Linked DNA regions of Homo sapiens: regions 1 and 3 are each linked to region 2. The links are contacts of gene promoters, found by promoter capture Hi-C in blood cells and fetal thymus (Javierre and others, 2016). All regions are on one chromosome and are shown on one strand. Each heading gives the region's core, a stretch centred on a gene start or on the middle of the fragment in contact. The rest is flanking DNA. Distances are from core to core; before and after follow the strand shown. Region 1 overlaps LOC105374211 (a long non-coding RNA gene). Region 2 holds the start of PRKCI (protein kinase C iota). Region 3 overlaps LOC105374211 (a long non-coding RNA gene).

Evidence for each region. The method cuts DNA at HindIII sites, captures the fragments that hold promoters and counts their contacts. A CHiCAGO score of 5 or more calls a contact.
Region 1: a contact is called between a fragment that was not itself captured here and the fragment with the promoter of PRKCI in region 2, in 1 of 17 cell types (erythroblasts). The highest score is 5.1, in erythroblasts.
Region 3: a contact is called between a fragment that was not itself captured here and the fragment with the promoter of PRKCI in region 2, in 1 of 17 cell types (naive CD8 T cells). The highest score is 5.2, in naive CD8 T cells.

The regions. Positions count from the first base shown.
Region 1 is chr3:170,834,213-170,836,912 of GRCh38, forward strand. All of the region lies in intron 2 of LOC105374211 (a long non-coding RNA gene), which reads left to right. Among named protein-coding and RNA genes, the nearest start is that of RPL22L1, 35 kb to the right of the region's middle. RefSeq lists an enhancer at 1,091-1,654. The HindIII fragment of the contact is 1,271 bases long and covers 699-1,969 here.
Region 2 is chr3:170,221,004-170,223,703 of GRCh38, forward strand. It overlaps PRKCI (protein kinase C iota), which reads left to right and starts at 1,421. Exons shown (of 18, transcript NM_002740.6): 1 at 1,421-1,767. The coding sequence starts at 1,667. RefSeq lists enhancers at 952-1,011, 1,082-1,141, 1,152-1,311 and a silencer at 1,492-1,781. The HindIII fragment of the contact is 16,903 bases long and covers 1-2,700 here.
Region 3 is chr3:170,811,323-170,814,022 of GRCh38, forward strand. The region is part of intron 2 of LOC105374211 (a long non-coding RNA gene); the gene reads left to right. Among named protein-coding and RNA genes, the nearest start is that of RPL22L1, 58 kb to the right of the region's middle. The HindIII fragment of the contact is 3,060 bases long and covers 1-2,700 here.

The DNA of each region.
Region 1 (2,700 bases), core at 84-2,583, 610 kb after region 2:
TTTGCACCAACCTGATAGCTCATTTGAATGGAATGATATTCCACTGTCTGCATCTACTGCAGTTTATTTGTCCATTCACCTGCTGAAGGGCATCTTGGTTACTTCCAAAGTTTAGCAATTATGAAAAAAACTGCTATAAACATTCATATGCAGGTTTCTGTCTAGACATAAGTTTTTAACTCCTTTAGGTAAATACCAGGGAGCATGATTGCTAGATTGTATGGTAAGAGTACACTTAGTTTTGTAAAAATTTGGCAAATTGTCTTCCAAAGTGGCTGTACCATTTTGCATTGCCATCAGCAATAAATGAGAGTTTTTATTGCTCCACATCCTCACCAGCATTTGGTGTTCTGGATTTTGGCCATTCTCATAGATGTGTTATGTTCAGCAGTCTGTTTTAACAAACCCTCAAGGTGATTCTGGTGCACTAAACATTGAAAACCATGACTGTGGACAGATCTTCTCTCATAGAAGTAGCCCTCCCAGCTGGTCCTGATTCAATCTGCTGACCTTGTAATGAAACAGAATAAAGAGGAGGACAATGGGGAGGAAAGCAGTGTTTATTGAGCGACCACAACATGCCAGGCACTGTATCATTATAATTTCATTTTATTCTTCCATAGAAGCTAAGAAATTTTTACTCTTGTCCCCATTTTAAAGATTTTTTGAAATGAGATTCCAAGCCATAGTAATGTTTAAGCTTACAGACCTACTAAGTAGTGAGTTCACATTAGGGAATTTGAAAAGTACAAAAGTTATAAAGAAGAATATAGGAATTACCCACAACCCCATTCAAAACAACATTATTATTTAGTGTAAGTCCTCACAGTATTTTTTTTTTCCTGTGTAAAACTCCTTTGGATTTCAGGCTGCTCTGTGGTCTCTCATAGAATTTAGGCTCCAGAGTGGGTCCTTTGCTCTGAGATCTGAAGACCTAGGAACTAATGCCTCCACCTTCAGCTTTGTTCTAATCTCTCCTAAAAGCAAGTATCTAGATCCTTTTATTCTCCCTACATCCCTACATTTGATAATATACAGAAGCAAGAGCTTAGTAAATCAAACAAGTGAGCTGAAGTAGGTGCTGAAAGTTGACCTAAAACAAACTGGGAGCTAAGACTCTACTCCAAGACAGAACAGAAATGGACTTGGAGCCAGATATAGAACAAGTTATTTATGCTCAGTTCTCTAGGAAAAGGATGGAGGCTTGTTCTGAGATGTGTGCATCTTGTGCTGGGGGCTGGAGGGAGCTGCTGTTCCTGGAACACTCTGCAAGTGTCTGTTCTGGGAGGGGCATCATGGTCGCTGCATCCCAAGCCAGGCATATTGTGCATCAGAGTCAACGAATGGAAGTCATCAGAATTCTGGATGACACTCTGTGATGCTTGGATGGTTCTCTACTTAACCCCCTGTGGAGGCTGCTGTGTATCTGTTTCATGCCAGACTCGGAGAAAATAGTAAAGATAAAAGACAGAAGGCTTATAGCTGTTTTCATAAAGTGTTTGTTTTCCTTGCTGTTAAGACCACTTGTCCAAGTGAATCATTTGGGGTTATATTTTACTAAAGCACCTCAAAAAAAGCCAAAATATTTTTAGAATCTATAGCTGTGGGTGATCCAAACATAATGAGCTTCCTCCTTCTGAAAAAAAAAAAAAAAAAAAAAAAAAACAGAAAGAAAAGAAAAAAGGAAAGCCTAGGTTTTTTTTCCTCCAACCCTGCCTCTGAGTTTGAAACCTACAAGCAATTGCTGCCCCTCCCTCCCAAACCCTTAGTTTTTACCCAACATAAAATGAAAATGAAGATAACATGGAAGGATTTCATGACAGAGATGTGTCATATTCAGGCTGTGGATAATTGAAATTTACGATTAACAATTTTGTCAGAAGAATGCCTTTTAGTCCCCGGGGTCCTTTATTGTGTATGCTAATAGGACAATTTAGGATAAAGACAGGGAGTGGGTTATAAAGAGAAAAGCTTCATTATGTAAGTTAAGGAGTAATACAACGCATTCACTAATGAGAAGTTTTAACATATTTTACTTATCTACATTTGAACAGACAATACATTCATATAGTTCAAAACTCAGGCTGGGTGCATTGGCTCACGCCTGTAATCGCAGCAGTTTAGGAGGCCAAGGCAGGTGGATCACCTGAGGTCAGGGGTTTGAGACCAGCCTGGTCAACATGATGAAACCCCATCTCTACTTAAGAAAAAAAAAAAAAATTAGCCAGGCATGGTGGTGCGCACCTGTCATCCCAGATATTCGGGAGGCTGGGGCAGGAGAATCGCTTGAACCTGGGAGGTGGAGGTTGCAGTGAGTCGAGATCACACCACTGCACTCCAGCCTGGCGACAGAGGGAGACTCTGTCTTAAAAAAAAAAAAAAAAAAAAAAAATCAAACTGTATGAAAGGATAGGGAATGAAAAGAACCCTTTCACATCCTTGTTCTTCACCCCCAGCTTTCCTGAGGCCATGAGAGCTACCAGAGTGTTTGGTATGCTGTCAGATGTGTGCTATGGATAAACCAGCAACACACACATATTCTTATACTCTGTTTTTTAATGCAAATGGCAACATTCACTACACTTTGTTCTATGCCTTGTTTCTACACCTGAGGATGTCTCTTAAATGTTTTTGTTTCAATGTATAAAGAACTTCCACGTACATGAGCCCTACCTTAGAATCATCCCCCATAGTAGAGGT
Region 2 (2,700 bases), core at 171-2,670:
ATAATCCAAGTCTGTAGCAGTTGGAGGATGTCGTACCACGCTGAAGTGTCACACATAACTGATGACTCAGTCCCCCAAGCCTATTTTATCATCGTAAAGAAAGCTATTTCTTTGATTATTCCAACTCTTTCAGCACCAGGACTGCTGCAGGGGCTGGATTCATGCTACCTGTAGTTGCAGTGTAAATTATGTGTCAGAGCCAAGATCCTAGGAAAGTCAAAGACTAGGTTACAAGAGCGATTCTTTTTTTTTTTTTTTTTTTTTTTTTTTGAGACAGAGTCTTGCTCTGTCGCCCAGGCTGGAGTGCAGTGGCACAGTCTTGGCTCACTGCAACCTCCGCCTCCCTGGTTCACGCCATTCTCCTGCCTTAGCCTCCCGAGTAGCTGGGACTACAGGCGCCCGCCACCACGCCCGGCTAATTTTTTGTGTTTTTAGTAGAGACGGGGTTTCACCGTGTTAGCCAGGATGGTCTCGATCTCCTGACCTTGTGATCCGCCCGCCTCGGCCTCCCAAAGTGCTGGGATTACAGGCTTGAGCCACCGCGCCCGGCCAAGGACGATTCTTTCTAATCTTTGGTAAGCCAGTTTTTACAGAATGAAATGCTCTTGGATTGACTGACTTGATTGGGTAAGTATTCATTGGGCTCTTGTTCCATGCAAGGGCAGTCTACAAGGGCCTAGATATGGGGGCCCCCAAAGAAGAAAAATCGGTTTTTCATCATATTTTCTGGTTGAGTTTCTTCCTTTATTATATTTGTTACATATGTTATTAAATTATTTCCATAAAAGAGGTTATGCTGAGCAGGTAACCAAATTCTTGTTCCCCCAAAAGACATGTATAATTCAGACGATTTATGCAATTAGAAGAAGGGAGACTTCATCAGTTAATAAAGTCTAGAACGTGAGGAAGCCCAGTCATTTCCAGGACCTTCAGATGCCCAAGCTGGATCCAGGTTTTCCACCCCGACAGCTCCAGGGAGCACGCTGGAGAGACAGACTTCACCAGCGGGAAGGCGCGGCACCCTACGCGCAAGGAACCTCAAGTCCCAGAATCCTATGAGGACTCCAAATCCCAGAAACCTGCACGCAAATCTATCCCGGGTGCCAAGTCGGCCGACCGCAGACGTGACCAAGTTGCGAGGCTAGGGTGAGGTGTCGTAGAATTTGTCCCTACCATTGTCCCTGCAGGGAAGAGACTTTAGTGATCTAGAGCTGGTCATTGTCTCTTTCACAGCTCGCGTGAAAGCACCCCTCTCGGCGTGTTTGATGCCATGATCAGCGTCTCCCATTCCCTCTGTCCCCTTTCTCTGCCCCCGTAAGGATGGTTCAGCCCGGTATTGAGGCTCCTTGAGCTGGCTGGATGGTTGCGCCCGCCCTACCCCGGAATGTGGGCCTTTGGAGCGAGCGAAGTGGGAGGGACCGACGCAGGAGGTGTCTTGGGCCCGGGCGGCTGTAGAGGCGGCGGCGCCTACGGGCAGTGGGAGGAGCCGCGCGGTTCCGGCTGCTCCGGCGAGGCGACCCTTGGGTCGGCGCTGCGGGCGAGGTGGGCAGGTAGGTGGGCGGACGGCCGCGGTTCTCCGGCAAGCGCAGGCGGCGGAGTCCCCCACGGCGCCCGAAGCGCCCCCCCGCACCCCCGGCCTCCAGCGTTGAGGCGGGGGAGTGAGGAGATGCCGACCCAGAGGGACAGCAGCACCATGTCCCACACGGTCGCAGGCGGCGGCAGCGGGGACCATTCCCACCAGGTCCGGGTGAAAGCCTACTACCGCGGGTGAGTGTCCTGGGACAGGGCGGTGGGCGGGAGGGGACAGGCCGGCTCCACTCGGCCTGGAGGAGGGGAGGGTGAGGGGCTGGAGGTGTTGTGGGCGGATTGGGCTGGGCGGGCGGGCGGCTCCGGTGACTCAGGGTGAGTGACGAAGTGATAGGGGTGGGGGCGAAGCAAGGGGATGCAGTACTGGGGGCGCCCCCAGGTATGGCGGTGCGGGGAGCCGAGGGGCCAGAGTAGGGTCCGAGAAGGAAGCTAGGGTTAGAGTAGGTGCACCTGGTGTGGACGAGAGACTCGCCTCCTGAGAGCTTTGTAGGGGCCTTGCATCCTTAAGTCTGGGTGTATTTGGGGTTGCGAGTTGAGGATTCCAAGTGATGCCTTAGTTAACTCAGTTTGCTGTGGGGATAGAAAACGGGACTTCTTCAGTTAGCTGTCCGTTTTGATTACCAGCAGGCCTAACGCCTCTGGTTCTCTGAGATATACCTCCATCCCCGTTGTGTTCACGTAGTGTATCTGCACTGCCAGTATATTAGACATAGGGGTTGTATTTAAGAATCAAGTCGATGCGTTTTCAGGGACGTGCAGTGGGTACTTACGTGTCGTCAAGATTAAGTTGCATGTGTGTAAATCAAAATTTTGTGAGCCTTTCTTTCTCAGTGTTGTTTCAACGACTACCCGATAGGGTGAGATACTGCAAGGTGAGGAGACTAGCCTAGTTACAGTTTTAAATTCTCTGATCTTCACTCCCTTACTATGGTTACAAGAAAAAACCCAGTTCTAAGTTCATTGTGTTAAATCATTTTCTATCAGTGACGCAAAGTGCCCCCCTTCCTTTAAATTCAGTTGTGGTTTGAATTTTTTTTTGAGATAATTATGTTTAGGAGCATTAGAAACGTGAAATGTTAGTGTGACCATAAAGGTTGGAGACTGAGAAGTCAC
Region 3 (2,700 bases), core at 149-2,648, 590 kb after region 2:
CAATCACACTTTCAATCTTTTGATCCGATAATCCCAAATACAAAGAAGAAGGCCCTCAGCAGTTCTCTATTAGGTATAAAAGGGAAGAAAGCCAGTTACAATGGCTGGAAGACCTTAGAGGAAAGGAGGCCCCGGGAACATGGGGACTAACAGCAAATCCTGGTACTGGCCACAAGCCACAAATTTGTGTAGGGGTAGGGAAGAGGATAGGGGATGGCTGGAGCCTGAGACCTGGTGTTTCCTATGATCAGTGCACCTAGCTTGATGACTCATGTTCTTCTAGCTTTTGGCAGCCTAGACTGGTATGTCACTGAAATTTAAAAGCTCCCTGAAATATAGGCAGCATTTTCTCTCCAGCTGTATTTTGAAAAGATGACACAATTTGGATGCAACCTTGTTTTCCAACCTGAAGCAATATTCAGACAGTGTGTTGATGTTTTTAAGTCAGTAGGTGTGTCTGTTTAGTATGTGTGTGCATGCGCGTAAAACGCTCTCCCTCGTGATGCAAAACATGCCCTTTTTCTAATGCCCACGAAAGAAAGTTATCTTAAAGTGAACAATTATTTGTTTGGGATGTCACACTCCAGAACTCTCCACCAGCTAGTCTATTGGGCCCGCTAGCTTCACAGAAGTCAAGGCCAGGTTAATGCATACTATATTATTAGCGAAATAACTAGGTCTTTAACACCTCTCCCTCCAAAAAACAAACACACAAAACAGCTTTAACTTTCATCCCTCTCCAATACCACACTGAATGCCCCACCCTAAGCCATAGCCCTATAACCTCCTCCTCCCCTCTCCTCTTCTGAATGAGAAACCATGAGTGCCCCCTAGTGGTTCAATGGCCGTAATTGCACTCCCCAGCTTTTTGTTTGCCTAATTACTAAGTTTTACCAGCAGGGTTGCAGCCAAGTTCAAGTGTCAAGTTCAAGAACATTTTTGTACTGCCATGTGGTGATTCTGTTGCAGCTAATAAAGAGCTTAAAAGTCTTTGGGTCTGTGAAGCATAATCTCAGCTTTTTCTGTTTGGCGGATCTTCTTAGGTTCTCCTTGGTTCTGCACAGCTGATAATGTGAGAGGGGTTGCTGCTCTCCTCTTGCCGCAACCCCCACCCCAGGCCTTCTCACTCCCAAAACCTACCAAAACGTACCAAGCTGCCTCTTTGAATCTGCTGGCGTGGTAAGGGGAATGGTGTGGCGCATGTGAAAGAGATTGTCCCAAATGGGCAGAACCTTGGGACCCCAGCAAAATCCTGTGTTTAAGTTCTGGCCCAATTGCCAAAGTTCATCCCCAGTTCTTGTTTCAGACTAGCTCAGAAATTCGTCTCATTGATCCCTTTAAGGGCTTTTGTATGCGACTCTGCCACATCAAGAAAATAGCTCTACTACCACCCACTCAGAATATTTGCAGAATTTGCTTTCTTGAGATACGATCATAGCAAAAGCCATGCAGGAATCCCCACTTACCACAGAGGTCCATTTCCAGACATCTCATTGTGACCCCACTCCTCTGATGGCTGCAGACTCAGTCCCCAGAGGAGGAGCTCCTTGAGGCAGGGGTTGAAACATTTTTATAAATTATTATCCCCAGCATGTGGCACAGGGCCCAACATGTAGTAGGTGATCACAAAATTTTCTGTCAGGGAAAGCGTTAAAGTACTGAACTACTCTCCCAGTCCCCAAGCCCATTCTGATGTTAAACTCCTAATTCCCAATGTGACTGTTTTTGGAGTTCAAGCCTTTAGGGAGGTAATTAAGATTAAGTGAGGTCCTAAGGGTTGGTCTATAATCTGAAGGACTGGGGTTCTTATAGGAAGGAGAAGAGACACCAGAAATTTCTTTCCTTGCGTGCTCACAGAAAAAGGGTTATGTGAGGACACAGGAATAAAGTGGCTGTCTACAAAGAACAGGAAGAGAGGCCTTACCAGAAACCAACCTGATCACACCATGATCTTGGACTTCCAACCTCCAGAACTGTGAGAAAACACATTTCTGTTGTTTAAGCCATCCAGTCTCTGGTATTTTGTTAATGGCAGCCCTAGCAAACTAATACAGAAAGGGAAGCTCTTTAATGAGATTCCTGCAACCAGACCATGGCACAGTTCTAAATTCCAAAGAAGGAGGGAGGACAGACACTAACACGTGTTGAGAGCTGACGGATGTGGCAGCACTGAAGCAGCTGTTCCTGGAAATTCACCAGTTGTCTTCTGATCTAAAAACACTCCTGGGGAAGCTCGTGAATACCCACGGGTGAAGTGTTTTCCCCTGTACTATTCTCCCTACTAGCCATTCCCCAGTGCCTGGCTTTCAGTGATCTCTGGGTATGTGAACTCGAAACCAGCATTTCAGTAGGGAAGATGTAGTCAGGCAGAAGAACGTGCTCCTGTCTACCCAAGTGATGCTCCTAAGTGTCTCCATGAATGTCTATGAGTACCCAGGAATGAATGTTGTGTTTCTCATCCTGCATTGGATTTTACAGCCTTCATTAAATTTTGACCAACAAAATTGAGTGAGAAAAATCAGGCTTCCTGCAAGGAATGAGCTAAAACCAGTGTCGGGTTCTCACTGTGAACCTTGCATTTCCCTTTAATAACAGACATCAGACCACCTGCAAAAACATTACGTCTCACTAAGCCAGGTAAGAGTGAAACTAGAGAAAAGTAGAGGAAATGCCTTAAGTCAAAGTTTTGATTTGTAAATC